7 separate regions of the Homo sapiens genome follow, and all the other regions are linked to region 1. Evidence: promoter capture Hi-C in 16 types of primary human blood cells and fetal thymus (Javierre and others, 2016). All regions are on one chromosome and are shown on one strand. The core of a region is centred on a gene start or on the middle of the fragment in contact, and the rest is flanking DNA. Distances in the headings are between cores, read along the strand shown. Region 1 holds the start of SP140 (SP140 nuclear body protein). Region 2 overlaps CAB39 (calcium binding protein 39). Region 3 has its middle 23 kb from the start of LINC01907. Region 4 has its middle 82 kb from the start of LINC01907. Region 5 has its middle 100 kb from the start of LINC01907. Region 6 overlaps LOC112268431 (a long non-coding RNA gene). Region 7 has its middle 140 kb from the start of SP100.

The links. Contacts are between HindIII fragments. The CHiCAGO score rates a contact against its expected background, and 5 or more counts as called.
Region 2: a contact is called between a fragment that was not itself captured here and the fragment with the promoter of SP140 in region 1, in 12 of 17 cell types (total CD4 T cells, non-activated CD4 T cells, neutrophils and 9 more). The highest score is 11.7, in total CD4 T cells.
Region 3: a fragment that was not itself captured here is called in contact with the fragment with the promoter of SP140 in region 1 in 2 of 17 cell types (non-activated CD4 T cells and neutrophils); the score reaches 5.7 in non-activated CD4 T cells.
Region 4: a fragment that was not itself captured here is called in contact with the fragment with the promoter of SP140 in region 1 in 9 of 17 cell types (total CD4 T cells, non-activated CD4 T cells, total B cells and 6 more); the score reaches 8.9 in total CD4 T cells.
Region 5: a contact is called between a fragment that was not itself captured here and the fragment with the promoter of SP140 in region 1, in 8 of 17 cell types (naive CD4 T cells, total CD4 T cells, activated CD4 T cells and 5 more). The highest score is 9.4, in naive CD4 T cells.
Region 6: a contact is called between a fragment that was not itself captured here and the fragment with the promoter of SP140 in region 1, in 11 of 17 cell types (total B cells, naive B cells, naive CD8 T cells and 8 more). The highest score is 10.9, in total B cells.
Region 7: a fragment that was not itself captured here is called in contact with the fragment with the promoter of SP140 in region 1 in 10 of 17 cell types (neutrophils, naive CD4 T cells, naive B cells and 7 more); the score reaches 11.5 in neutrophils.

The regions. Positions count from the first base shown.
Region 1 is chr2:230,223,323-230,227,379 of GRCh38, reverse strand. It overlaps SP140 (SP140 nuclear body protein), which reads right to left and starts at 1,644. Exons shown (of 27, transcript NM_007237.5): 1 at 1,477-1,644. The coding sequence starts at 1,535. It also overlaps a transcript of SP110 not described here. RefSeq lists enhancers at 1,055-1,104, 1,125-1,204, 1,275-1,324, 1,555-1,764. The HindIII fragment of the contact is 6,572 bases long and covers 1-4,057 here.
Region 2 is chr2:230,715,681-230,719,737 of GRCh38, reverse strand. All of the region lies in intron 1 of CAB39 (calcium binding protein 39), which reads right to left. Among named protein-coding and RNA genes, the nearest start is that of CAB39, 4.9 kb to the right of the region's middle. The HindIII fragment of the contact is 4,922 bases long and covers 1-4,057 here.
Region 3 is chr2:230,675,624-230,679,680 of GRCh38, reverse strand. No RefSeq gene overlaps it. Among named protein-coding and RNA genes, the nearest start is that of LINC01907, 23 kb to the left of the region's middle. The HindIII fragment of the contact is 6,143 bases long and covers 1-4,057 here.
Region 4 is chr2:230,616,430-230,620,486 of GRCh38, reverse strand. No RefSeq gene overlaps it. Among named protein-coding and RNA genes, the nearest start is that of LINC01907, 82 kb to the left of the region's middle. The HindIII fragment of the contact is 2,666 bases long and covers 451-3,116 here.
Region 5 is chr2:230,598,241-230,602,297 of GRCh38, reverse strand. No RefSeq gene overlaps it. Among named protein-coding and RNA genes, the nearest start is that of LINC01907, 100 kb to the left of the region's middle. The HindIII fragment of the contact is 8,478 bases long and covers 1-4,057 here.
Region 6 is chr2:230,575,665-230,579,721 of GRCh38, reverse strand. It overlaps LOC112268431 (a long non-coding RNA gene), which reads left to right. Exons shown (of 5, transcript XR_002959453.2): 3 at 485-568; 4 at 3,696-3,800. Among named protein-coding and RNA genes, the nearest start is that of LINC01907, 120 kb to the left of the region's middle. RefSeq lists an enhancer at 1,188-1,327. The HindIII fragment of the contact is 1,685 bases long and covers 960-2,644 here.
Region 7 is chr2:230,554,684-230,558,740 of GRCh38, reverse strand. No RefSeq gene overlaps it. Among named protein-coding and RNA genes, the nearest start is that of SP100, 140 kb to the right of the region's middle. The HindIII fragment of the contact is 1,596 bases long and covers 1,606-3,201 here.

The sequences.
Region 1 (4,057 bases), core at 395-2,894:
CTGGCTGGACTTTGAGCTCCGCTGGCTCATCTTCCCTTCACTAGAGAGCAAGTGAAAGAGAGATGACAGGGATGCCTGTCTGGGAGTGGTGGCACTGGGCACTGAAAACCAGTCTGGTGCCACCACTACTGCTGATAATAGCAATAGCTTTTGCTTTCTTGGGGCTGTACCAGCGCCAGAAGTAGCCTTAGCACAGAGTCCCAATTAGACAAGTTTCCATACATTTTTACATTCCACACATTTTCATTTTTATCAAGAATGTACAGTCATCCCTTGGTATCCAGGGGGAATTGGTTCCAGGACCCTCCATGGATACCAAAATCCATGGATGCTCAAGTCCCTGATATAAAAGGTGTAGTATTTACATATAACCTATGCACATCCTCCTGTATATTTTAAATCATCTCTAGACTTATAATACCTAATACAATGTAAATGCTATACAAATAGTTATACTGTATTTTAAATTTTTATATTACTTTTTATTGTTGTTATTTATGTTTTTAATTTTTAGAAAATATTTTGCATTCATGGTTGGTTAGATCCATGGATACAGAATCCACAGATAAGAAGAAATGACCGTATTGATGTACTTGTCTTTTTTTTTTTTTTTTTTTGAGATGGAATTTCACTCTTGTTGCCCAGGCTAAAGTGTAATGGTGTGATCTTGGCTCGCCAAAACCTCTGCCTCCCTGGTTCAAGCGATTATCCTGCCTCAGCCTCCTGAGTAGCTGGAATTACAGGCATACACCATGACACCCAGCTAATTTTGTATTTTTAGTAAAGACAGGGTTTCTCCACGTTGGTCAGACTGGTCTCATTGTCTTACATTTTTTAAAGATGATTTCCAGGCTTCTCTGACCAGATATGTAAAAAATACCAGAACAGAAGAATAAAAAAAGCAGAAGCAGCACTCACTCTCTACCTGCTTGCCTTTTTTGTTGGGTCTCATCTGCTTTCACTTCCTCCTACCAAGTATTCAGAGATCCTGAAGTGATTCTAGGGCTAAGAGCCACATAGATGGGCTCAGAGCAGAACCGGTCCCCAACTACACAGCCTGGAAAGTGTGACAACAGACAGGCGTTTGGATTTTAATTCTTCTAAAAAGATCCTTTTTAGACAGAGTTGTCTTTTGGAGTGGGGATAAAGGAGGCCTGGGGGAGAAGAGAGGGTTCAGAGGTCACGGGGAATCATCCAATCCTACACAAAGCCTCAGAACAGGCATGATGTTCAAACAGCTCCAGTCCAGCCATTTGCAGATGTAAGAGAATAGGAAGATGATGTGAGTCACGGCATCCTTGAGTTTCTCCAACAGCCAATCCCTGCAATTTAAAAAATCTGATTGCCTCGTTATTTATTTGTAACTGAATTCTATTGTATACCTGTAGAGTGAAGCTGGGTAGACATTAAATAACAAGTATGAAAGGGAACCCTACCAGAGATGAAGGACAGACGGGAAAGGAGACGATGACCCACCTGAAGTTGAGATTGCTGTCTCCACTTGCCATCTGCCCCTGCTGGCCCTGCTGGGCCATGAGCTTGGCCTAGGATCACACCCGATTCGATTTTCACTGCCCCGTTCCTTCCTGCAGCTCTGAGGTGAAGCTGCCAACTGCCCCTCGGTGCTCAGTCAAAGAGGAAAAGAAAAGTGAAATTGCCTAACTAGCTGACGTGGGTGCACCAACTCTACAGTCCTCCCTCCACCCAATCTCCATGACGTCTCTCAGTCAAGGGAGGAGGAGCAGAGCCAGCCCCACGAGGCCACGGAAGACAGGGTCACTTGTTCCTGCCAAGGAAAGAGGGTGGAAAAGTCATTCAACTCAAGCAGATCAAAGTTGTTTTGAGGTAAGGTGGCATCATGAGGAGGAAGTAAACTCTGTATTTGTCCCCACCCCTTGCTGAGGTGGCTGAGAAGGACAAGTGAAGACCAGACATTTCAAATCTTCAGTCAGGCTCCAGGGCTGGCCATGCACCTTAGTGAGCCTGGGCTGGATGGCTTAGGCCCAGTGTTTGGACATGGGGCCAGGGAGAACTGAAATAGCATGCATTAGAAAGTGGGGGAGATGCTCTTAGCACTCCATGAAAGCAGACAGAGGTAAAAGACAACTCTCTCAACTCCTCCAGCCAAAGGCAAGTGCTGAGGTTGGGCAGAGAAATGAGGTGCAATTCTAAGTTTTCTCAAATATGTGGGCACTTTACAACAGCAGCCAGGGGTGACTGGGAAAAAAATGAGCTTCAACCATTTCACTGAAATCTTGAGGAGAGTGACAGCCTTCTCACTGGATGGGGAAAGGGTTTGGAGCTGAGATTATCTAGACCTTCAAGGACAATATGATACAGGAGGATAGCTGTATTACATTTATGTTTGCACACAATTTTTCATTTATACCCAGCCCTCATTCTGTAAAGGATTTGAAACAATTTACAAAAACACACTATATCAGCATAAAGTCGAGTGATAAACAAATGGAAGCAAAGGGCAAATATAAAAAATATAACCACAGGACTAGAAATCCAGGCAGAAAAATGGGTCAAAGACAGGGGGCTGATGAGAGCCAGGGTATGGGTAGAATCCAGGGCCAGTGACAGAACAGTAGTGAGGATTGAAAAGCCAGAGGCAAAGCAGTATTTTTCCAAAACATGTGCTCCTGAATCCTACTTTTTCTGGTTCATTACACATATGCAAGGAAATTTGCATACATAAGTTTGCAAAATACAGAGTGCAAGAAATTTCTACCCCTTCCACACTTCTGCTTTCTTTCTACCAAAGGAACAAACACCAATCTGGTTGAGACAAACTCTAGAACACTGATGAGGACACCTTTTCCAGTATCTCTCTCTCTCTCCTCTCTCTCTCTCTCTCTGTCCTCTCTCTCCTCTGTCTCCCTCTCTCTCCCTCTCTCTCCCTCCCTCTCCCTCCCTCTCCCTCTCTCTCCCTCCCTCTCCCTCCCTCTTTAAAACAAGAAGGAAAAGTATGCTGGGCTTCTGTTAGACACAGCTGTCCTCTCCTCCCAGTCTCCATGGGGCTCCAACAAGGCCTGGTACAGACTATACCGCCTGCTCCAGCATCCCCTCTCTCTCTTCTCTCTGCCCTTAGGCAGTAGGCAGACCCAGGACACCAATGAACTGGACATTTTTGAAAATGTGCCAGCTTCTTTTGCTTATAAGCACAAGGCCATTGGTGTTCCTCAGCTGACTGGTGGTAAGATTGGTACTTCAGGGGTACTGCTGCTACTACTAGAAAGCCCTACTTTGCAACACCATGCATTAGCCCAGGTAAGGATAGCCTGAAATTTCAGTTCTATTTCCCACTATCTTGTTTTTCCCTATGCTCACTACAGAACCTCTCCTGGGTAAGGGATTCCTGGGCCAGGCATATGTAGGACCATCAGACCATCTCTGGTTCCCAATGTCTTCCTTTACTGCCACGTGACCAGTGGAGTCAGAAGGCTCCGGCCTGCCTCCTGGCTCTGTTCCCCCATCCAGATTTAGGCCAAGTAGGTCATAATCCCCAAAGGTAAATCAATGCTTTCATTCTACCTGGAAGATTTCTCTTCATTTTGCTAAGCATGCTAGAATCTGACACCTGGAATTGGGGAAATGAATTGTATAGAGTCTTGATCACAATCCAGTGCTGTAATTTAATTTGCCAACTTACCCCTATTTGCCCACAACTCCAAAATTCCTGACTCTGAACGCTAATGGGGATGTTCACTGTTTTTATGTCCAATTATGTCAGATAACCAATCCCAGATTGATCATATTTCCTTGAATATCTCTTGCCTATAATTCAACCTCTGGTGCCCAACATTTTTATCAGTCAGGATTTGGGAGTAAAAGTAATCCAAACTGACTCTGGCTAACTCAGGCAAAAAGTCAATTTCTTAGAACTATATTGGGTAGCTCACAGAATGTATGGGAAAGCCAGAGGACTAGGTTAAGAAAGTAGGCAGTCCAGGCAGGTTATATTGACTCACTTGCCCTTTGTCATAATATAGTTGAAAGATATCTGGATCACCTGGACATCCCATAGAATGTCAGACTGGGCTGGGCATGG
Region 2 (4,057 bases), core at 876-3,375, 490 kb before region 1:
TGACTGAAGCCCAGAGAGATGGAGTTACTTGTACAGAGTGACAACATAATTAGCCATGGAGTCAGGACCCAGCCCAGATCTTTCGATTCCCAGGCTTCTGTGTTTCCCACTGTAACACAGGCCTCCCATCTTCTCTACAAGAATAATGTAGAAATTAAATACTATCTACTGGCCTAACTAAACTATAAGCCACTAATCAAATTATGACTATACAACGAAAGCATTTATAATAAACCATCTCTTTTAGATTGTAATGTGGTTACTGCTTGGAAACCTATTAAAATCCAAATTCGGATCTATTTATAAACCTCCATTCTAAAATACTAATTCAAAACTGCTCAGCAAGGAAAATAAAATTATTTCATGAGGGAGTCATACCCTATTTCAGGGAGCACATATTTTGAAGTGAGGCAGACCTGAGTTCAAATTCTGGCTCAACTGTGCAATGTTTGTGTTATCCTGGACAAACCCTCCACTTTGGTTTCCCATCAATGATGTTGGGGACAATACTACCTAAGAGGTTTGCCCAACATTTAGTGGACCTAAACGGTAATTTGTTCCCCCAAGCTAACTAATTTTTGTTAATTTTCCTTGATTCTTTGTCTATTTCGACTTCTAACTTCATACACGCCTCCCAAATCACTTGCCAGCTACATCACAAATATTATGAATATTAGTATATTAAACCTTAAAAAAGAATTATATGACAAAGAACATTTAATATATTTTGAATACAACCTTTGTAAATGTTAGTGAAAAGGTCCAAAAGAAGACATTACTGCATAAAGTATGATACTTAATTCAAGTAAACTGGACAAAGAATGAAGAAAACCAGGCTCCAGATTCAGTCCTGTGGCTAATAAGCCATAAAACCCTAGAAAAGAGACTTCACTTTGCAGAAAGCTACACCTGTTACTGCTCAAAGTGAACCAAACTCTGCTCTAGTTACGGTGGGCCTCAGTGTTCCCACCTGCAGAAAGAACCATTCTGCCTAGGTTGTTTCTGAAGTTCTAAAGTTTCTCCCCCCTGGAAAAGCCTATCATGAGCATCACAAAACTTATGTCTAGGCATCTGATACACGGCAGCACATCAGATGTAGCAACTCATTTAATCGTCCTACAACCCTCTCAGATATGGTCTACTATTACCATCCAAGGAATTCAAGCTAGACAGAAGGAACTTAAGGTTATAGAGCCCACAGCAGAGGAATGAGGGTTCAAAATCTAGGCAGTCTGGCTGCACCTGCGCTTTTAACCACTGGCTAACACTACCTCTCCAAATTCTATAAACCTAAAAGCGGGCCTTAACTACAGACATGTAAACAGAAACCTGTCCAAGTATTTCTTCCTAGTGCCTCAATACAGCTGATATATAATCTACTGTGGAGGGAGACAACAGTGACTAGCATGTTAATAGTCAGTACACTGTAAAGAGCAAGTTACAGTTCATGAGACAAGATCACAAAGTAGGAACTTAATTAAGATCAAGATACACAATGTATGTTTTGTTTCTCAAATGTATTACCAAATAAAGTGTGTGATCTTTTAACAGTATCATACTTCCGTGGTCCTCAACAATTTTTGCTGGATAATGCTCCCAAAGAATAATTACCATATAAAAACAAACTGCCACTAAATAATGGCTAGATTTTCCCCATCTTTGAAACATGCATATGAATACACACATAAACAAGCAAACACAATCTATAACTTAAACACTATATTCTGAGTACCAAGACAAAAGCTATTAAAGATCATACAAATAGGTATGCACTGGATATGGTCAACATGAAGGGCCAAGGCAGGATTTACCTCCCTCCTTTGGAGCCACTTCACACCCGAATGACCTCCCGCAATTCTCTGCATGCCATCCTGCCTTCCTCTGCAGGCTTAACATCACAGCTGCTATAAACCACAATTCTGCTGTCCCCTCACCCCTTCTGTTTTAAAAGTTAAAAGCACAGTGGGACTGGGAAGCTCAGTGAGACAGAAATGGCACAACACCCCCCAAAAATGCAGATGGCAACTAGCTGTTAACCTGATTTCATCACCACCAGTCTATGATCTGCCACCTAGGCCTGTAGTAACTCTTCTCATAATCCTCGGAGGGCCTGAGAAACAGAGGCAGAACACTGATCATTTTATTCACAGACTGTTCTACTCTACAAATGGTGACGGCAGAAGTATTTGCTTCACTTTGCTCTGCCCCCATATTCCGGACTGTAGAGATGAGGGGAGTTGAGTCCAGTCTCTCTTTCTCACTGCAAGACACCCTTGCAGGAGAATTTTTTAAAAAGTAGTGGTTGGGATCCGGTCGGAAAGTCACTAAGGGCACAGAACGTACGAACTCTCACACAGCTCAATTCCTTCTGTAATTAAAGAAGGCTCTAATACAAGTCTTCTTACAATGGCCAAAAGATACTGATGACTAAATTGCTATGCAAATTTAGATTACCTGACTTCATAATAATGCCAGATCTTTACACCTCAGTAATAACAAGTCACAAGTAATTTAACCCAGAGATTCAGATTTGATATTTTTTCCCCACAATTTTATCAAAGTGTGTAAAAAAAAATGTTTACCAGTTTTTCTGTTATCCAAATTAATCCACCTTCCACAGTCCCATTTCTGTAACATGTAAAGACGTTCATAAAATCAAATGCCCAATTAAAAGAAGCAATGAAAAAGAGGAAAATGAATTTTTATTTTTATTATTTTTATTTTATATATACATTTTTTGAGATGGGGTATCACTCTGTCACCTCAGGCTGCAATGCAGTGATCAAAATTCACTGAGGCTGCAAATTCCTGGGCTCAGGCAATCCCTCCTGCCTCAGCCTCTTGAGTAGCTAGGACAACAGGCACACACACCACCATGCCCGGCTAATTTTTTATTTTTGTGGATATAGGGTCTTGCTATGTTGCTCAGATCGGCCTCCAACTCTTGGGCTCAAGCAATCCTCCCACCTTGGCCTCCCAAAGCACTGGGATTATAGGAGTGAGCTACCCCGCTCGGCCTGACCTTTTAAAATAGGGCTGGAGGCCAGTGTGGTCAGGCCTATAATCCCAGTGCTTTGGGAGGCTGGGGCAGGAGGATGGCATAAGCCCAGGAGTTCAAGACCAGCCTGGGCAACAGAATGAGACACCATCTCTTTTAATTAAAACATTTTTTAAATTAAAAAATAAAATAGAGCTGGAATAGAAACAATGCCAGAAAGGTAAACAAAAGACAATACCTGAAACAAAATTCGTCCTACTACTGAATTTTATTTTTGGGGGTTGGGGAGGTTGGATTTGTGTATTTTCATGGCAGATGGCTAAACTGTGAGTGATTAGTCATCAATCTGGAAAAAAGGCTCTTGGGAAAGTATGGCAATAACTAAAGAAATCTGTAATCCCACAAAAGTTGATCAAAACAGAAAACTTTAGTAAATATTCCAAGGTAATAAAGACCCTGTGTGGCATACGTATTTGCAATATACAAACATTCAAATAAAATCAAGTTACCAAACCCCATACTTATACTGGACTTTCTTAGCAGTTCTTCTACATTAACTTTAGGAAACGTATACAGCCTTACTCAGCATCTTACTTCATACGTGATGAAACAGAAACAGAGATCTTATTAATACACCTTAGAATGTAAAATACATGGGAAAAAACTGACTTAGTACAAGAACCTGAAGTAGAAAATGCTAATGAAGGGAAGTAAGCTGCCTTGAAATAAAAAAACAGATATCCAGGCAAGCGTGGTGGCTCACGCCTGTAATCCCTGCACTTTGGGAGGACAAGGCGAGATTACTTGAGCCCAGCAGTTCAAGACCAGCCTGGGAAACATGGCAAGACCCTGTCTCTATAAAAATACAAAAATTAGCCGGATGTGATGGTACGAGCCTGTGGTCCCGTCTACAGGAGGCTGAGGTGAGAGGATGGCTTGAGCCCAGGAGGTTGAGGTTGCAGTGAGCCATGTTCGCACCACTGCACTCCGGCCTGAGCGACCGAGTGAGAACCTGTCTCAAAAAACAAAACAAAACCAAAAAGGCAAATACCACCCATT
Region 3 (4,057 bases), core at 658-3,157, 450 kb before region 1:
ACTCCTCAGGCCAACACACCTGCTTATAATCCCCTTAACACTTTGGGCTGAAAGCTGATACTTTGCCTAACACATCAAGTGCTGAACTCTTTCTCTTGCAATTTAAGTCCCAAGTCAATTAGGGTTATATCTGTATTAGAAATGGTACCTTTTGGCCGGGCACAGTGGCTCATGCCTGTAATCCCAGCACTTTGGGAGGCTGAGATGGGCGGATCACCTGAGGTCAGGAGTTAGAGACCAGCCTGGCCAACATGGTGAAACCCTGTCTCTACTAAAAGCTACAAAAATTAGCCAGGCGTGGTAGCGGGCACCTGTAGTCCCAGCTACTTGGGAGGCTGAGGCAGGAGAATAGCTTGAATCCAGGCGGTGGAGGTTGCAGTGAGCCGAGATTGTGCGATTGCACTCCAGCCTGGGTGACAGAGCAAAACTCCGTCTAAAAAAAAAAAAAAAAAAAAAAGAAACGGTAGCTTTTGGTGTATTTGCTGTCAAGAAGTAATATGTTTCCTTAGACCTTCTTGTTTTCTCCCCGTTTCCCCCTCCCTACCACCTTCCCTACCTTCTTCTTTATTCTTTGTCTCTCTCACTGTCTCTACCTACTCTTTGGTGTGTGTTTCTCTCTCCCCAGCCTCTCCTGGGAATTTTATTGCTGGAATTGCAGGGAAAGACATGCCATGTAGCTTGTTTATTTCATGTTTTATCAGTCTCTGTCCCACATACTGTAGGATCTATGTCCCATAAGGGCAGGTTTTTTTTTTTTCTTTCATCTCTTTTATTCTTTTAGTGACACACCAACATAATTGAGTAAGTTACATTGGCTTAAGAACTTTATGGGTCACAGGCATGGTGGTGCATGCCTGTAGTCCCAGCTACTCAGGAGGCTGAGGAGGGAAGATCCTTTGAGCCTAGGAGGTTGAGACTGCAGTGAGCTGCAATTGCACCACTGTACTGCAGGCTGGGTAGCAGAGCAAGACTCTCTCTAAAAACAAAAACAGAAAGAAAAACAAAACCAGATTACTTTAGAACTTAAAGGATCTTCTTGGAATTGTGGACAAGGCTAGGTTTCCATCTGTGGTAGGGCCTTCCTTAAATGTCTTTTTCATGTAATCTTGTGGTTTTTCTAGTTCAGGGGTGTGGCCAGCAGCTTCTGACATGGCCCCCACTAGTTCTCCTCTCCTGGTATTCATGTTTTTGTGAAATCCCTTCCCCTTGTTTGTGGGCTAGACCTAGCTAATTGCTTTAATTAATTGAATACGGCAAAGGTGATAGGATAACAATTCTAAGAGTAGGTTATAAAAGATTGTGACTTCTATCTTGTTGCACTCTCTCTGGCTCTTCTCACACATTTGCTCTGATGAAGAGAGCTGTAGAGGCCCATGTAATAAGAAGTTGAGGGCAGCCTCAGCCTAACAGCCCTGCCAACAACCCTGTGAGTGAGGCTAGAAGTAGCTCCTTCCCCAGCTGAACCTTCCGATGAGACCACAACCCCAACTGACACCTTGTGTTTTTTGTTGTTGTTGTTGTCTTTTGTTTTTGTTTTTGTTTTTGTTGTTGTTTTTGAAACAGGGTCTCACTCTGTTGTCCAGGTGCCACTCAGCCTCTCAAAGTGCTGGGATTATAGGCATGAGCCACTGCACCTGGCCAACACTTTGATTCCAGTCTTCTGAGATGCCCTGAAACTGAGGACCACCTAGGCCATGTGTGGTCTTCTGACCCACAGAAACTGTAAGATTTTAAAATGTGGCCAGGCATGGTGGCTCACACTTGTAATCTCAGCACTCTGGGAGGCCAAGGCTGGTGGATCACCTGAGGTCAGGAATTCAAGACCAGCCTGGGCAACATGGTGAAACCCATCTCTACTGAAAATACAAAAATTAGCCTGGGGTGGTGGCGAGCATTTGTAATGCCAGCTACTTGGAGGCTGAGGCAGAAGAATCACCTGAACCCACGAGGCAGAGGTTGCAGTGAGCCAAGATTGCGCCACGGCATTCCAGCCTGAGCAACAGAAAAAAACTCCATTTGAAAAAAAAAAAAAGAAAAAGAAAAAGAAAAAAAAGAAATCCATAAAATTAGCTCAAGTTACAAGAAGGAAGGGTTGTTATGAGGATGAGGCACCTCTGAGACAGCCACAGGCAGGACACATTCTGGCCAGTCCCAGCCTCTCTTTCTCTCTTCCAACTCTCTCTCTTGCCTCCCTCTCTGTCTCTCTCTTTCTGCCTCTTGGCCTGCAGCATCACAGCCTCTCCCTGCCTGCATTTGCCCCAGCCTCCTCTTGGCAGCAGGGGAGCTTGGCCCTACATGTGGTGCTGACTTCACTCCACATCACCTCCTAACTGCACCACCCACAAGCTGGATTTCAAGCATCAGCAGCTTCGCCTCTCAAACTGCACTCACTTCCACATCCCAAGAAGAAAGTGACTGGCCCACTTTGGGTCAGGGCTAATCCATGGGCAGATGGGGTGTGGGCACAGTAGAGGGATCTTCTGGGACACAGGGTTGCCTATCTAAGCTGAGTCAGGAAGGAGGAGAGCATACCCACCTCCAGTATAACTGATTAAAAAATAGGCCGGGAGCGGTAGCTCATGCCTGTAATCCCAGCACTTTGGGAGGCTGAGGCAGGTGGATCACCTGAGGTCAGGAGTTTGAGACCAGCCTGGCCAACATGGTAAAACTCCGTCTCTACTAAAAATACAAGAATTAGCCAGGTGTGGTGGCACATGCCTGTAATCCCAGCTACTTGGGAGGCTGAGGCAGAAGAATTGCTTGAACCTGGGAGACAGTGGTTGCAGTGAGGCAAGATCCTGCCACTGCACTTCAACCCAGGCGACAGAACGAGAAAAAAAAAAAAAAACAAGACAAAAACCCAGTACACTTCTATAAAGCAGCACTAAAGCTGAGCCCTCTTCCTCATGCCCAGAGCCAGCCTCCCTGAGTAAACTGTGGTTCCTATGAAACCATCAGGGCAGCACTCTTTTCCAGTGCCTCTGTCATTAATGCTATGTTGCAATTCATACGTTTGTTGAAAATTAGAATGCTGCATTCGTTGATTTGTTGTCTGAAGGGTTCTTCCTTAGGGCTTATGGCTCTACAAATGATATTGGCTTGACCCCCAGAATTAATTTCAAGAAGGCCTGAGCTGGTAGGTGTTGCTTGCTTAGTCCTGGGAGCCTATCCAAGCCCTGCCTTGCCCTTCTTGGACCCTCCCTCCTTGGTGACCTGTTGGGCACTCTGGGGAGAAATAGGTGCAGACAGCCCAGGGATCTCTGGGCTGTAAAGGGCAAGTGGTTAAGTATGTGGCAGCACTAGTGAAGAAGACTACTCAGCAGGGTGCCTGGCTAGGCGTGGGGACCCAGAGAGAAACACAATCCCATGCTTGTTCTGAAGGAGCACGCCGAGCTGTGAGAGAGGCACACACATACGTGACCATCCCACCATCCCACGTGCCTCACCCCCTTTGCTGCTTTCTTTGTCGTTACAGAATTTTGAATTTGACATGCCATGTAGCTTGTTTATTTCATGTATTATCAGTCTCCGTCCCACATACTGTAGGATCTATGTCTTATAAGGGCAGAGTTTTTTTTTTCCTTTCGTCTCTTTTATTCATGGTGGCATCCCTAGTGCCCAGGACAGGTACAGAGTAGGTACTTAAGTATTTGTTGAATGAATGAATGAAATACTAGGAGCAAGGTCTTTGCAGGGTGCTGGAGAAGCTGGAGGATTCAGAGACAGGTTTCTGCAGCCAATGTGCCTAAACTGCATCTCTGAGCCTCAGCCAGGTGAATACAGGTGGGCAGAGGAAAGAGGGCCGCACAAACAAAGGCATAGAAGGAAGGCACAGCCTGCTGCATATATGTCTGGTCCCGGCTGGCTGTCCTCAGAGCAGAAGGCTTCGTGATACGGATGCAGCCATGATTAACTGGGGAAAAGGGACCCAGGTGGATAGATGCTAATGGAGTGAAAGGAGAGCCTGAGCTATAGGCATCCCCTCTTTGAGTGGTTAAGGCTGGGTGACACACAGGTTCCCATCCCTGTGCTGGGGCTTAGCATAGGATCAGGAGGA
Region 4 (4,057 bases), core at 534-3,033, 390 kb before region 1:
TTGCAATGGGTTAGAACACGCTCCTTTAGCTTGGAGAAGTTTGTTATTACTGACCTTCTAAAGCCTACTTCTGTCAACTCTTCAAAATCATTCCCTGTCCAGTTTTGTTCCCTTGCTAGCGAGGAGCTGCGATCCTTTGGAGGAGAAGAGGCGCTCTGTTTTTTGGAATTTTTAGCTTTTTTGCTCTGGTTTCTCCCCATCTTTGTGGTTTTATCTACCTTTGGTCTTTGATGTTGGTGACCTACAGATGGGGTTTTGGTGTGCATGTCCTTTGTGTTGATGTTGATGCTATTTTTTTCATTTGTTAGTTTTCCTTCTAACAATCAGACCCCTCAGCTGCAGGTGTGTTGGAGTTTGCTGGAGGTCCACTCCAGGCCCTGTTTGCCTGGGTATCACCAGCAGAGGCTGCAGAACAGCAAATATTGCTGCCTGATCCTTCCTCTGGAAGCTTTGTCCCAGAGGGGCACCCGCCTGTTTGAGGTGTCTGTTGGCCCCTACTGGGAGGTGTTCCCCAGTCAGGCTACATGGGGGTCAGGGACCTAACTGAGGAGGTAGTCTGTCTGTTCTTGGTGTTCAAATGCCATGCTGTGAGAACCACTGCTTTCTTCAGAGCTGTCACACAGGGACATTTAAGCCTGCAGAAGCTGTCTGCTGCCTTTTGTTCTATTATGCCATGCCCCCGGAGGTGGAATCTATAGAGGCAGTAGGCCTTGCTGAGCTGAGGTGGGCTCCGCCCGGTTCATGTTTCCAGGCCTCTTTGTTTATACTGTGAGCTAGTCAAGCCTCAGCAATGACGGACTCCCCTCCGCTCGTCCAGCTACAGCATCGCAGGTTGATCTCACACTGTTGTGCTAGCAGTGAGCAAGGCTCTGTTGGCATGGGACCCGCTGAGCCAGGCATGGGAGGGTATCTGCTGGTTTGCCAGTTGCTAGGACTGTGGGCATAGTGCAGTATTTGGTCAGAAGTATACCATTTCTCCAGGTACAGTCTGTCATATGGCTTCCCTTGGCTAGGAAGGAGAAATCCCCCAACCCCTTGCACTTCCCAGGTGAGGCGACACCCTGCCCTGCATCAGCTCACCCTCCATGGGCTGTATCCACTGTCCAACCAGTCCCAGTGAGATGAACCAGGTACCTCAGTTGGAAATGCAGACATCAACCGTCTTCTGCATTGATCTCGCTAGGGGCTGCAGACTGGAGCTGTTGCTATTTGGCCATCTTGGAAGTGACCTTCTCTTCTCTTCTCTTCTCTTCTCTTCTCTTCTCTTCTCTTCTCTTCTCTTCTCTTCTCTTCTCTTCTCTTCTCCCCTCCCCTCCCCTCCCGTCCTCTCCCCTCCTCTCCTCTCCCCTCCCCTCCCCTCCCTTTCCTTTCTCTTTTTTTCTTTCTCTCTCTTCCTTTCCTTTCCCTTTCTTTCTTCCTTTGTTTCCCCTTCATTTCCTTCCTTCCTTCCTTACCTCCCTCCGTCCCTCCTTCCTTCCCTCCCTCCCTCCCTTCTCTTTCTCTCTCTTTCTTTCCTTTCTCTCTCTCTCTCTTCCTTCTCCTTTCCTTTCCTTTCCCTTCCCTTCTCTTCCTTCTCTTTTCTTCTCTTTCTCTTTCTTCTGGGCTTCACTCTTTTGACCAGACTGGAGTGCAGTGGCATGATCACAGCTCACTGAAACCTGCCTCCCAGCCTCAAGCAATCCTCCCACCTCAGCCTCCTGAGTAGCTGGGCCACAGTTGTGAACTGCCATGCCAAGCTAATTTTTGTATTTTTTGTAGAGACAGGGTTTTGCCATGTTGTCCAGGATGGTGTTGAGCTCCTGGACTCAAGAAATCTGCCTGCCTCGGCCTCCTAAAGTGCTGGGATTACAGGTGTGAGCCACTGCAGCCAGCCAAAAAATCTCTTCTTATAAGAAGAAAGAGTGTAAATGGGTTGAGAATGACAATTGCAAAAGGAGTCACTGGGTGTCATATTGAAATGACTTCACAGTTTGGGCTGCAAGTGTTTTGATGGTGTCTCTGGTCAATATGTCTGTCTTAGCCATGACCTGGAAAGTTCTCTAACTTAAGAGTTTAAGACAACAAGTCCAGGCGCAGTGGCTCATGTCTGTAATCCCAGCACTTTGGGAAGCTGAAGTGGGCAGATCACTTGAGGCCAGGAGTTCAAGACCATCCTGGCCAACATGGTGAAACCTTGTCTCTACTAAAAATACAAAAATTAGCTGGGCATGGTGGCAGGCACCTGTAGCTCCAGCTACTTGGGACGCTGAGGTGGGAGGATTGCTTGAACCCGGGAGGCGGAGGTTGCGGTGAGCTGAGATCACGCACTCCAGCCTGGGTGACAGAGTGAGACTCTGTCTCAAAAAAAAAAAAAAAAAAGACAACAGAAAATTAATAGATATAGGAAGCCCCAAGATGAACTTCTGATTTCTGATTCTTCTTGAGTCAAAACTCACCTGAGCAGGGCTTTGGAATAGTTACTTCTCTGGTCCCACCTGGATTTCTCTTTCATTCTGTTCCAGTTCAGCCCATTTGGTTCCAGGTGTCCTACAGAGATGCTGCCCTGCCCTGTGTAGCTGGGAACTCCCTAACTCAATGTTCAATGGCAGGAACATTTCAGTCTCTGTGCCTGCAGCTGTTCCAAGTTAAATAAAACCCTTTTTCAGCTGTGATGGAGAGTACTTTGCTCTAGTGCTTTCTGCAAAAATACTTGTTGCCAGTTATTTATAAGTTTGGAAATGAAATGATTTTTTTTTCTTTTTTCTTTTTTTTCCAGACGGAGTCTCGCTCTGTCACCCAGGCTTGAGTGCAGTGGCGCCATCTCAGCTCACTGCAACCTCCACCACCCGGGCTCAAGAGATTCTCCTGCCTCAGCGTCCTTAGTAGCTGGGATTATGGGCATGTGCCATCACGCCCGGCTAATTTTTGTGTTTTTAGTGGAGACAAAGTTTCACCATATTGGCCAGGCTGGTCTTGAACTCCTGACCTCAGATGATCCGCCCGCCTCGGTCTCCCAAAGTGCTGGGATTACAGGCGTGAGCCACCCCGCCCGGCTAAGGGAATTCCTTTCTTATGATGTGTGTTTATTACACACAAATATAAAGGGCATTAAACTTCCTGTGTAACTCCCTTAAGCTTCTTCCCTAAGGCTTGGAGATTTTCTCTTTTAGCATTTTACTCTTGTGAGCTGTTAAAGTCCCCTGGCAACTTTATGAACTGATTAAACACTCTCTTCAACTTTTCATTTCTTCTCCAAACAACAGTGAAAATGGAAATAATGGCAAAAATAGTTACCATTTATAGAGTACTTACCACAGGCCAAGAATTCTGTTCTTTTCACATACTTTTAAAAATTTATCTTTCAGAAAAATGCTATAGTTATTTATATTCTCATATAAGGAAACAAGCATGCAGAAAGTAATGTACCCTAGGCCAGGTGTGGTGACTCACACCTCTAATCCCAGCACTCTGGGAGGCCGAGGTGGGCGACTCACCTGAGGTCAGGAGTTTGAGACCAGCGTGACCAACATGGAGAAACCCCATCTCTACTAAAAATACAAAAATTAGCTGGGCGTGGTGGTGTGCACCTGTAATCCCAGCTACTTGGGAGGCTGAGGCAGGAGAATTGCTTGAACCCAGGAGGTGGATGTTGCAGTGAGCTGAGGTAGCACGATGACACTCTAGCCTGGGCAACTGAATGAGACTCCATTTCAAAAAAACAAAACAAAACAAAACAAAAACCACACACACTCACAAAAATGAAAGTAATGTGCCCTAGGCCACTCAAAGTAAATGACAGTTTTAGAAATCCAACCAATGGCTGCCTGACTCCAAGGTGCCTTGATTCTAACCTCAGTAAATTTTCAGATCTGTCTCTTCCAGGGCTCACTGCAGCCAGAATACTTTCTGAGCTGGAGCGATAGTGACCAGAGCCAAATTCACCTTCATTGTAATGAAATTAAGTCAAGGGCTAGTGTTGCCCAGTGGATGGAGGATTTCCGCCTTCAGATAGCAAGCGCTCTAATGACCTCTGTTTCACTGATCAGTGCCCATCGAGGTTGCCTCTTTAAAAATTATT
Region 5 (4,057 bases), core at 858-3,357, 370 kb before region 1:
CCTTGGCCTCCCAAAGTGCTGGGGTTACAGGTGTGAGCCACTGTGCCTGGCCTCATATTCTCTTAAACCATTAAATTGGACGGGTGCGGTGGCTCACGCCTGTAATCCCAGCACTTTGGGAGGCCGAGTCAGGTGGATCACTTGAGGTCAGGAGTTTGAGACCAGCCTGGCCAACATGGTGAAACCTCCATCTCTCCTAAAATACAAAAATTAGCCGGACATGGTGGCGGGGCCTGTAATCCCAGCTACTGGGAAGGCGGAGGCAGGAGAATCGCTTGAACCCGGGAGGTGGAGGTTGCAGTGAGCCAAGATCATGTCACTGCACTCCAGCCTGGGACACAGAGTGAGACTCGGTCTCAAAAAACAAAAAACAAAAACCCCCAAACCCCCCAAACTATTAAGTTTTGCAGCCAAACCTCATTCGTCCTGGGTGTGGCTGAATCCAGGGAGGAGGGGAAAGCTCCATTATGCGGGCTTCAGGCCCACACCTGTGCCACTGTTTTGCCGTCACCTGAAACCAGCAGAAAAAGCAGCTCAACTGTGGCTCTGAGAAACTTCTGATATTGGTCATGACATTCATTCTCTACAAAATCCCACTCTCAACTAAGCTGAGCCTCCCTGCCCCCGCCAATTTATTTTTCTGTCCCCAGTTATGCTCAGCGCTATTGTCTGTCCCCACGCTCCAGAGAGCAGCATGTGATAGCTTAGTTGGACTAATTAACACGAAGCTCCACATTCAAATAACATGAGTCCTCTCCCATTATCATTATTATTATTATTTATTGTAGCAAAGTATACATAATAGTTATCATTTCATTGTTAATATATATGACTATTTAGCATTATCAATTTCTCATTTAGTCATTTGTAAGTGTGCAATTCAGTGGTATTAAATACATTCACAATACATTCGTGTAAACGTCACCACTATTTCCAAAACTTTTTTGTCATTCCCAATGTAAACTCTCTACCCGTTATACAAATAACACCACATTCCTTCCCCCTCCTCCCATCCCCTGGTGACCTCGATTCTATTCTCTGTTTCTATGAATTTGCTTATTCTAGGTACCTCAGATCAGTGGAATCACACATTTGTCCTTCCATGTCTGGCTACTTTCACTTAGCCCAGTGTTTTCAAGGTCCATCTACACTGCAGCACATATCAATATTTTATTCCCTTTTCATGGCTGAATACCATGCCATTGTGCATGGCCACTGAATGCTCTTGTAAACATGGGTATGCAAATATCCAAGGTAATGCTTTCACTTTTTACGGCTATACCGTATAACTAGAAGTGTTGGGATTTATAGGGTTAAGCCACTGTGCCTGTCCTTAATTTACTTTGGATATATACCCGGTAGTGGGAATTGATGGATCCTATGGTAGTTTTTTTTTTTTTTTTTTTTTTTGAGACTGAGTCTTGCTCTGTCACCCAGGCTGGAGTGCAGTGGTGCGATCTCGGCTCTCTGCAACCTCTGCCTTCCGAGTTCAAATGGTTCTCCTACCTCAGCCTCCCGAGTAGGTGGGACTACAGGTGCATGCCACCACGCCTGGCTAATTTTTATATTTTCAGTACAGATGGGCATTTCACCGTGTTGGTCAGGCTGGTCTGAAACTCCTGCCTTGGCCTCCCAAAGTGCTGAGATTACAGACCTGAGCCACCGTGCCCCGCCCGTATTTTTTATTTTTTGAAGAACCTTCACGCTGTTTTTCAGAATGGCTGCAGGAATTTACATTCCCACCAACAACATTTAAGTGTTTTCTTTTCTTTACATCCTTGCCAACACTTGTTATCTTTTGACCTTTTGGTGATAGCCATCTAACAGGTGTGAGATGATATCTCATTGTGGTTTTGACTAGCATTTCCCCGATGTTTAGTAATGTTGAGCACCTTTTCATAAACCCCTTAACCATTTGTATATCTTTTTTGGAAAAATGTCTATTCAGGTCCTTTGCCCATTTTTCAATTGGGTTATGTGTTTTTTTTTTTTTTTTGCTATTGAGTTGCATGAATTCTTTATATATTTTAGATATTTAATCCTTATCATACACCATAAATACCCCTACTCTGTACTCACAAAAATTAAATTAAGTATATTTAAAAAAGATATTAAAACTAAAGAAAAAACACTTATCAGATATATGGCTTGCAAATATTTTCTCCATTCTGTAGGTTGCTTTTTCATTTTGTTGATTATTTCCTTGGCCGCTCTGAAGTGTTTTAGTTTGTGGAAAATCCCCTTGTCTATTTTTGCTTTTGCTGCCTGCGCTTTTGGTGTCATATCAAAAAAACTTTGCCAAGACCAATGACATGGAGCTTTTCTCTTCTTTTCTTCTAGAATTTTACAGTTTTGGATCTTACCTTTAACTCTTTAATCTATTTTGAGTTAATTTCTGTGTATTGTGTAAGATAAAGATCCAATTTCATTCTTGTTGCATATGGATATTTCATTTTTCCAACATGATTTATTGAAGATACCATCATTTTCTCGTTGTGTATTCTTGGTGCCTTTGCTGAAGGCTAGTTGACCATGTATATATGGGTGTATTTCTGAACTTTCTATTGGGTTCCATTGGTCTATGGGCCTGTTTTATTTATTTATTTATTTATTTTTTTGAGACGGAATCTCACTCTGTTGTCTAGGCTGGAGGGCAATGGAGTAATCTTGACTCACTGCAACCTCCGCCTCCCAGGTTCAAGCGATTCTCGTGCCTCAGCCTTCCAAGTAGCTAGGATTACAGGTGCCCACCACCATGCTCGGCTAATTTTTGTATTTTTAGTAGAGATGTGGTTTCATCATGTTGGCCAGGCTGGTCTCGAAATTCAGACCTCAGGTGATCCACCTGCCTCAGCCTTCCAAAGTGCTGGGATTACAGGCATGAGCCACCATGCCCGGCCTATGTGTCTGTTTTTTATACAAGTACTATACTGTTTTAATTACAATATCTTTGTAATATACTTTGAAATCAGGAAGTGTGATGCCTCCATCTTCATTCTTCTTTCTCAAGATTGCCTAAGCTATTTGGGGTCTTTTTTGGCTCCACACAAATTTTAGGATTTTAAAAAAATTTCTGTGAAATACATCATTGAAATTTTCATAGGGATTGCCTGAATCTGCAGATCACTTTGTATAGCATGAGCATTTTAATGGTATTAATTATTCTGTTTGTGTCTTCTACAATTTCTTTCATCTGTGTTTTATAGTTCTTATTGTACAAATCTTTTACCTCCTTCGTTAAACTTATTCTTAAGTATTTTATTCTTTTTGATGCCAGTGTAAATGGGAATGTTTTCTTAATTTCATTTTCAAGCTGTTTGTTGTTAGTATATATTATAGAAATGCAACTAATTTTTTATTTTTATTTTTTCTTTTTCAAACTTTATTTTAGATTTGGTGGTGGGGGGTAGATGTGCAAGTTTGTTACAAAGGTCTATTGTGTGATGCTGAGGTTTGCAGTACGATTGTATCTGTCATCTAGGTAGTGAGCTTAGTACCCAATAGGTGGTTTTTTAACCCTGGCCCTCCTCCCTCCCCTCTCTTTAGTCCCGAGTGTCTACTGTTCCCATCTTTATGTCCAAGTGTGTCCAATGTTCAGCTCCCACTTATAAGTGAGAACATGTAGCATTTGGTTTTCTGTTTCTGCATTAGTTTGCTTAGGATAATGATCTCCAGCTGACCATGTGGAGAATCATTTCTTATTGCTGTGTAGTATTCCATGGTGTATGTGTACTACAGTTTCTTTATCCAGTCCACCACTGATGGGCACCTGGGTTGATTCCATGGCTTTGCTATTGTAAATAGTGCTGCAGTGAACATATGGGTGCATGTGTCTTTTTGGTAGAATGATTTATTTTCCTCTGGGTGTATACCCAGTAATGGGATTGCTGGGTTGAATGATAATTCTGTTTTTAGTGTTTTGAGAAGTCTCCAAACCACTTTCCAGAGTGGCTGAAGTAATTTACACTCCCAAGAACAATGTGTAAGCCTTCTCTTTTCTCTGCAGCCCTGGCCAACATCTCTTATTTTTCTTTTTTGAATAATAGCCATTCTGACT
Region 6 (4,057 bases), core at 553-3,052, 350 kb before region 1:
TGGAAAGGTATGTCTTTTAGTTGCTGTGAGGAAGACAGAAAAAGACACGGAGACACAGAGAGAACAGGACTGGAGCCTGATATGTAGGTTGGAAGAGATGTAGAAGGAGAGAGTTGGGAAGGGAAAATGGAGAATGAGGAATGCATTCTCCTGCAGCATTGCTGGAGAGGAGAGAGACAGATGCACCGGAAGACAAGAGAGAAGCTGGCTAAGTCCATGATGCAGAAATGCCTTCCTAGGGCAGAAGCCTGGGGATTGGATCCTGGTGGAAGGCTGAGCAGGAGAGAGAGAGAGAACCAGGTCTGACAAGATGGGAAGAGGCAGAGCAGGGCTTGGCTGGATCTCAGCAGGGGTCCTCGGAGAGGAGCATCACTTCCCCAGGAGCATTTCACTTCTGCTCCCAACCGCAGCGCTCAGTGTGGTCACATCTCTGTCCTTTTCCCGGCCACTGGATCTGGTGTCTCATTTTATGTTCCCTCTTCAGTGCCTAGGGAACTCGAGGCTCTCCAAGTAAAAAAGGAGAGAGGGTCAGAAGAGATGCCCAGCAGACTGCCACATGGTAGACAAGGTACTGCAATTGAATCCTGCCCTTTAAGTGACCGATTACCTGATTATCTCATGGTGTGGAGGGAGGAAGGGCTTCTCTTCCTCCCCTCCCTCCCCGACAGGAGCCCAGCCTCTGGTTGCTTTCAAATTTGTGAAGGAAACAAGCAGGATGAGGCATGTGATGTGCGCGGGCTGCAACACTGTGAGAGGCACTCACTGGCAGGACCCCGAGAGTACATGCCCTAAGTCTTCCAGGCAGGAGAGAAAGGAGAGGCGAACGCCTCCCTGGAGCATGGCACCCTGGGTGGAGAAGCTGAGGAGCGCGAGTATAGAAGAGGTGGATGATTGGGCCATGGAATAGCAAGTTTTAGGAGGGAGCCCAGTTTTACCTAAGTGGACATGATGTCTAAGCTTTCCCAGGTTGGTGGAGGATTGACAAGGAAATAATGTTTGTCCTATTTGCTAGAAGTTGCCACAAGATCAGGCAAACAAGGTCTGTGACCATCATATTTGCAAGGAAGAAAGGTCATTGTAGACAACCTTCAGAATGGGGAGGGCAAGGGAAAGGGGCCCTGGAGGTAGAGTTAAAGCCAAAAAAGGAATGGAGGGACACGACTTTTCAGACAAGGAGAAGACACAGGAAGAAAATGCTTGGAAGGGTCAAGGCAGACAGAGGATCAAAGGAAGCCCCAGAAACACAGAGACATGGGGGAGGAAGTGAGAGACATGGCAGAGGAGACATAAACTAAAAACTCAAATGAGGGACAGTGAGAAAAATCATACAGAGAGAGAAACATGAGGTCAATGTAAATACCAGGAACAGAGAAAGTGAGGGAGAGGCACGAAGAAGCCAGGAAGTGAGAGTGAGTGTAAAGAGCAAATAAAAAATTGGTGGGGGTCAGTGTGGCAGCGAGAGAGGAGACACATTCTTCCATGAAACCACATCCTCATCCTTTTCCCCTTCCTCCTCCTCTTCCAGAGTTCCCTTTCTGGTAAAATGGCCATTACTGTCAAGTTTTCTCAAGCAAGAAATTCAGGAATCTTGCCAGGCAAGTGGCTCACACCTATAATCCCAGCACTTTGGAAGGCTGAGGCGGGCAGATTACCTGAGGCTGGGAGTTCGAGACCAGACTGACCAACATGGAGAAACCCTGTCTCTACTAAAAATAAAAAAATTAGCCGGGCATGGTGGTGCATGCTGGTAATCCCAGCTACTCGGGAGGCTGAGGCAGGAGAATCGCTTGAACCTGGGAGGCGGAGGTTGTGGTGAGGGGAGATCGCACCATTGCACTCCAGCCTGGGCAACAAGAGTGAAACTGTGTCTCCAAAAAAAAAAAAGAAAAACTCAAGAATCCTCCTGAGTTCTTCCCTCCCTCAACCCCTATGCCACATCAACCATCGAGCCCGGTGCACTGTACTTGGTGGCATTTGCCACCTGATCATTTTTCTCTATCTCTGATGCTATGATGCTAATCAGATCTCTGATAACTCTCCCATGAACTTCAGCTGCTATATCGTACCAAAGTTCAGGTATGTTTGTGCTGTCTTCCTGCCTAACCTCCAATGACTGGCATGATGATACCTGGGTTTAAGTTGATCCCTTTACTAGACTTCCAAGGCTGGGCAATGAGGGCCCTTCCTATTTCTCCAGCCTCTATTCTCTCACTCCAAGAAGTCACGCTGGCTTCTTTTAGTTACTCAAATTACTTTGCCCAAGCTGTCTTCTATCAGGGTCTGTTTTCTTGGCCTCTATCCTACTCATCTTCTCCCTAATCTGGCTACCTCCTGCTCACGTGATATTTCTTCCCATAGGCCTCTTCCTGTCTCTTGGACTGGCCTGTCTGTTCCAGAGCACTTCTTGCTTGCTGTGAGATAAAACTCCTGCCTCGTTGTGATCGTGTGCTTAGCATGCGCTCTCTCTGGACCACAGCTGCTTGTTCTCGCTGTGTCCTTCCAACCTAGCATGACAGTGTCTGGCACATAATAAAGAGCACACTTCATATTGTCAGGAAATGAAAGTATTCATATTTCTGTGCCCTAAAAACTGGACATATATTTTGGCGAACATGACATCACTGATGTATTTGTATGGAAAGCTTCACAAAAATAGTTCTAAGAATTATATTTATTTATTTTTAATTATTTATTTTTGAGATGGAGTCTTGCTCTGTCATCCATGCTGAAGGGCGAGTGCAGTGGTGCGATCTCGGCTCACTGCAACCTCTGCTTCCTGGGCTCAAGCAATTCTACTGCTTCAGCCTCCTGAGTAGCTGGGATTACAGGCATGCACCACTATGCCCCACAAGTTTTGTATTTTTAGTAGAGATGGAGTTTTGCCACGTTGGCCAGGCTGGTTCAAACTCCCTACCTTGGGTGATCTGCCTGCCTTGGCCTCCCAAAGTGCTGGGATAACAGGTGTGAGCCACCACACCCAGCCTAAGAATTATATTTATATGTACATGTACACGTAATAAGCTACTTTTGTGGAAATAAGTATAAGAATTAAGAACTTAAGGTCTTTATTTATTTATTTTTTAATTAATTAATTATTTTTTTTTGAGAGGGAGTCTCACTCTGTTGCCCAGGCTGGAGTACAGTGGCACAATCTCGGCTCACTGCAAGTTCCGCCTCCCGGGTTCATGCAATTCTCCTGCCTCAGCCTCCCAAGTAGCTGGGATTATAGGCGCCCGCCACCACGCCCAGCTAATTTGTTGTATTTTTAGTAGAGGCGGGGTTTCACTGTGTTAGCCAGGATGGTCTCAATCTCCTGACATCGTGATCCACCCCCCTTGGCCTCCCAAAGTGCTGGGATTACAGGCATGAGCCACTGTGCCTGGCCCTTAAGGTCTTTATTAATGATTAAGTTAATTAAGTGAAGATCACAAAATTTGGCCAAGACAATGATCAGTTAGTAAATAAGAATGACAGGTAAAGGGAAAAGAGAAAAACAAAATAGAGTTCAAGGTAAAAAGATAAACATAGAGAGACAGAAAGTAAGAAACATATCTGGAGTGAGGCAGTATAAAAGAAGGTGAAATTTAGTGACAGAGTGATCCTCTGAAGTGGGTAGAGAGAGAGGAAGAGGGGTACCACAAGGCTTTTTTGAGGGAGAAAGATGAAAATTCTTCAAGGATCACTATTTGTTCTAGGGGCAAAGCTATCCAGATCCAAAAATTGGGTGCAACCTAGTTTTGTGCTCCCGGAAGACATCCAGATGGCAAGGAAGGCGTGTAACCAAGCCCCTGAAATAATCGGTAAGGCTGGTGGAGGGTGTAATAATCGGTAAGGCTGATGCGGTGACACTGTGTGAGTCACAGCAGAAGTGACAGGCTGGGGGTGTGGTCAGAGTCCCACGTGGTGGCCCAGGGAGCCCAGATGAATGCTGGGAGACGTGGATTCTGGTGTTTAGCTCAGGGAGCTTCTGCACGACAGAGGAAAGTTGGTGGGGAAATGGAAAAGTACAGAGACACCTGGGAGAGGGAGAAGTGGCTCAGAGGAGACGTGGAGGGCA
Region 7 (4,057 bases), core at 1,154-3,653, 330 kb before region 1:
ATGTTTGGCTTTTAATTGGAGAAATTGTTTCATTTACTTTCCATGTAACTACTGATATATTTAGGTTTAAATCTACCATCTTCCTGCTTGTTTTCTATTTGTCTTACCTGTTTTATGTTCCTTTTCTTCTTCTTACTTCTTTATTGGATTACATTAAAATTACATTATTATAGTCATTTTTGGTTTATCAATGCCTAGTAAACATTAATACTCTTACCATTTTCTAGACAACATAAGGACTTTACACATTCCTATTTTAGATTTCTCCTGCCATTTTATAAATCTTATAGATATTAGAAGTAAATATACTTTGGGAAAAGCCACTTGGAAAACAGAAAAGCCAATAAAACTCTTAATATTCATATAAACATATTTTTCTTTACAAAAGAATTATTCTAATTGTTTGCTGCATATGTTACAAATAGAAAATAATTCCTTTTGATTTTGGAAGATTCATGTAATAGTAGTAGTTAGCTTGCTTTGTAGTAGTTAAATTAGGCTATCTGCTCTAACAAATAGACCCCAATATATATAACATCCTCAAACAAAATTTAAGTTTATTTCTTTTAAAACAGTCTAATGAGTTACAAGTTGGTGAGATGGGAGGGTTGTTGGGTTGTTGGGGGCTCTCTTCCATGTAATTATGCATGGTCTCAGACTGATGGAGGTTTTGACACTCATGGCTTCCAAGGGTGTCCTTACTTGGAGACTGCCATCCAGTTCATGGCAGAGGAAAGATTGTGGGGCAGTACGTGTAAGAAGCTTTTATGGGTCAGCCTTGGAACTAGGCACATGTCTTCCTCAGATGTTCCTCTATCTAGAACTCGGTCATAGGCCACTCATACCTGCAGGAATTCCTGGAAAATATAGTTTAACTGTGTGCCCTGGAAGAAGAGGAAAATACAGTTTGGGTAAGCAGCTAGCTGTCTCTCCTATACACTTTCTATCTTGTCCTCAAGTATCACCCTTCTTCCGATCTTCCCACATATAGAACCCCTTACCCTCTTTCTTCCTGCCCCTCCCTTACAGGAGATAACACAAACTCCCATATAATTACTGCACACAGGCCAATATCCACTTACTTTGTGTGAAGTACAGTTCTCCCTATCAGGTCTGGATGATGTTCTTGATGTTTTGGTGACCTTTTAATAAGTTTGTCTTCCCTTACTGTACTTCCAATATACAATGTTTGATGAGTGACAGAGTAATCCCAATACAACTACTATCTAGGAAGTGGAAAAATGGGAGACAAACAGTGGCCAATGGTCTATTATCTAAATCTACCAGGCTGTGATTAAAGGGGTCCCTCTCCTCTAGCAGTGGAGGAATTTGGAAATTTCTTGACTTTGATTCTGCTCTTTTGAAATAATTCTCCTGACCGTGCCCTCTATTTTTTTTTTTTTTTCATTTTCTCTTTCAATTTCCTTCTTGGCCACCTCTGAAGTATCCACTGGGGGACACACCCTTCTATAGCACTGTATGTATTCACAGCTTTTTTCTGCATGTTTAAGTTTGGATGACTAAGGGTTTTATTAAGGCTTGAACAGTACTTGAAAAGTACTTTATGTTCAGGTTTATGGTTCTTTCAGTGATTTTATTAAAGCTTGGTTGGCTTTTCATTGATTTATTGTCCATGAATTCCACATATTTATAACAACATCTAGAGTTCTGTTCTAAACTTAATCCATAAGCCTGATTTATTTCTTAACTTTTCCCTCCCAAACCAAATTTCTCTCTTAGTTGAATGGTACTCCCTTGAGGCTATCTGATGCCAGGTGGTTAGGTGTCAAGGCTTTGCTTACTTTGAAATTTACCTCAGTGCTCAATTCCTCTGTTTAATCGAGAAACCCTAACTAGCTTTTTGTTGCTCAAAGCCTCTTTCAGTCTCATCTCTTACTCTTCGGAGTTCTTTTGGCTTCTCCAACCCTACGAGAACCCACTTTTCTGTACTCTCTTGAGTCCCATTCACTTTTGTTCTCAAATGAATCAATTATTGCTGGAGCTGATCTCTTAACTGTAATAAGCCTTCAAACCCAGTGAGTGGTAACCAACAGACTCTATTGTTAGTGTTTTCCAATTCCTTTTCCTAGAGCTACAGGACTTAGAGGCATTAAAAAAATGTTTACCTTTTGTGATATATCTTGCAAGAAATCTGTCATGTTTTGCCATTGCCTAATAAAGGAAACCATTTTCCATGCTCTGATATAAAATTCCTGATCACTAAGCCATTTTTATTATGGCAACACCTCACTTCCAGTACTAGTTTCTTTCTATTTATTTATTTATTTATTTATTTAGAGACAGGGTTTTGCTCTGTCACCCAGGTTGGAGTACAGTGGCGCCATCCTAGCTCACTGCAGCCTCGAACTCCTGGACTCAAGCAATCCTCCTGGCTCAGCTGGAATTACAAGCATGGGCCACAGCATTCTCATCACCAGTGCCAGTTTTCATTATGACTTCTATATTCAATGTTATAGGATAATAGCTGTTAAATGGACCAAAAACTATGTAACAGCTCAAGCAAAATTGAGGCTTGTTTTACATTCTTGTAAACAAGGGGGTTCCATGTTGATAGAGGATGGGATGGATGGGCAAAGCTCTATTTCACCTGTTTGAGGACTGTGGTTGGTGGAGGCTGTAGTGCCTTTAACACATAGTTTCCAAGGCTTCCATATATGAGGAAAAGAGCAGAGGAAGAGGAAATGTGTAGAATGATTTGAAAGGGTAGGATATCAGAAGGGAGCAAAGTGTAAGAAGAGTTTTACAAGACAATGCAAGTTGCCTATTGTGGGTAAGTTTTTCCCAACCTTTCTGATCATCCCTCAGATGAATCAAAAAGCAGACTAATTTAGCTTGTGGGTGGGTATATTCTAGCCTGGAACTTTTCGAGGTCTTTTCTAGGTTTCTTTTTTTCTTCTTTTTTGTAATATGGCATTTTCTTCTGAGTTGGTTATCACCAAAACCCCTAAAGAATTCTATTACTTTCTCCTATGATCAGCAGTTGTTATCCTTTAGGAAATAATAATAAAGAATAGGGTCAAGAAACAAAATTCCTCACCAAGAATTTGGCCAGGTAAAGAAGAAAAAGATTGTAATTAGGAGTCTGAACTTTCTCAGTGCATCCACATGAAAGGGATCCAAGCAACTCACTGGATCCATTCTCTGCATAATTATAAAGTCCATGTTTAACAAATGGAAGCTTTGAGTCTGTGTATTCATATGTTGATATTTTATTTTAAATATGCTAGCAAAATTATGAGGCTTTTTCATTTTCATTTTAAGTTCTGGGTACATGTGCAGGATGTGCAGGTTTGTTACATAGGTAAATGTATGCCATGGTGGTTTGCTGCACCTATCAACCCATATCCTAGGTATTAAGCCCCGCATGCATTGGGTATTTTTCCTAATGCTCTCCTTCCCCTCACCCCACCCCCAACAGGTCCCAGTGTGTGTTGTTCCCCTCCCTGTATCCATGTGATCTCATTGCTCAGCTCCCACTTACAAGTGAGAACATGCGGTGTTCGGTTTTCTGTTCCTCCATTAGTTTGCTTCCAGCTCCATGCCTGTTCCTGTGAAGGACATGATCTCATTCTTTTTTATGGCTGCATAGTATTCCATGGTGTATACATACCACATTTTCTTTGTCCAGTCTTTCATTGATGGGCATTTGAGTTGATTCCATGTCTTTGCTACTGTGAATAGTGCTGTAATGAAAATACATGTGCATGTATCTTTGTAATAGAATGATTTATATTCCTTTGGGTATATACCCAGTAACTGGATTGCTGGGTCAAATGGTATTTCTGGTTCTAGATCTTTGAGGAATCACCACACCATCTTCCACAGTGGTTGAACTAATTTACATTTCCACCAACCATGTAAAAGCGTTCCTATTTCTCTGCAACCTTGCCAGCATCTGCTGTTCGTTGACTTTTTAATAATTGCCATTCTGACTGGCATGAGATGGTATCTCACTGTGGTTTTGATTTACATTTCTCTTATAATCAGTGATGTTGAGCTTTTTTGTTTGTTTGTTTGTTTGTTTGACAGAGTCTTG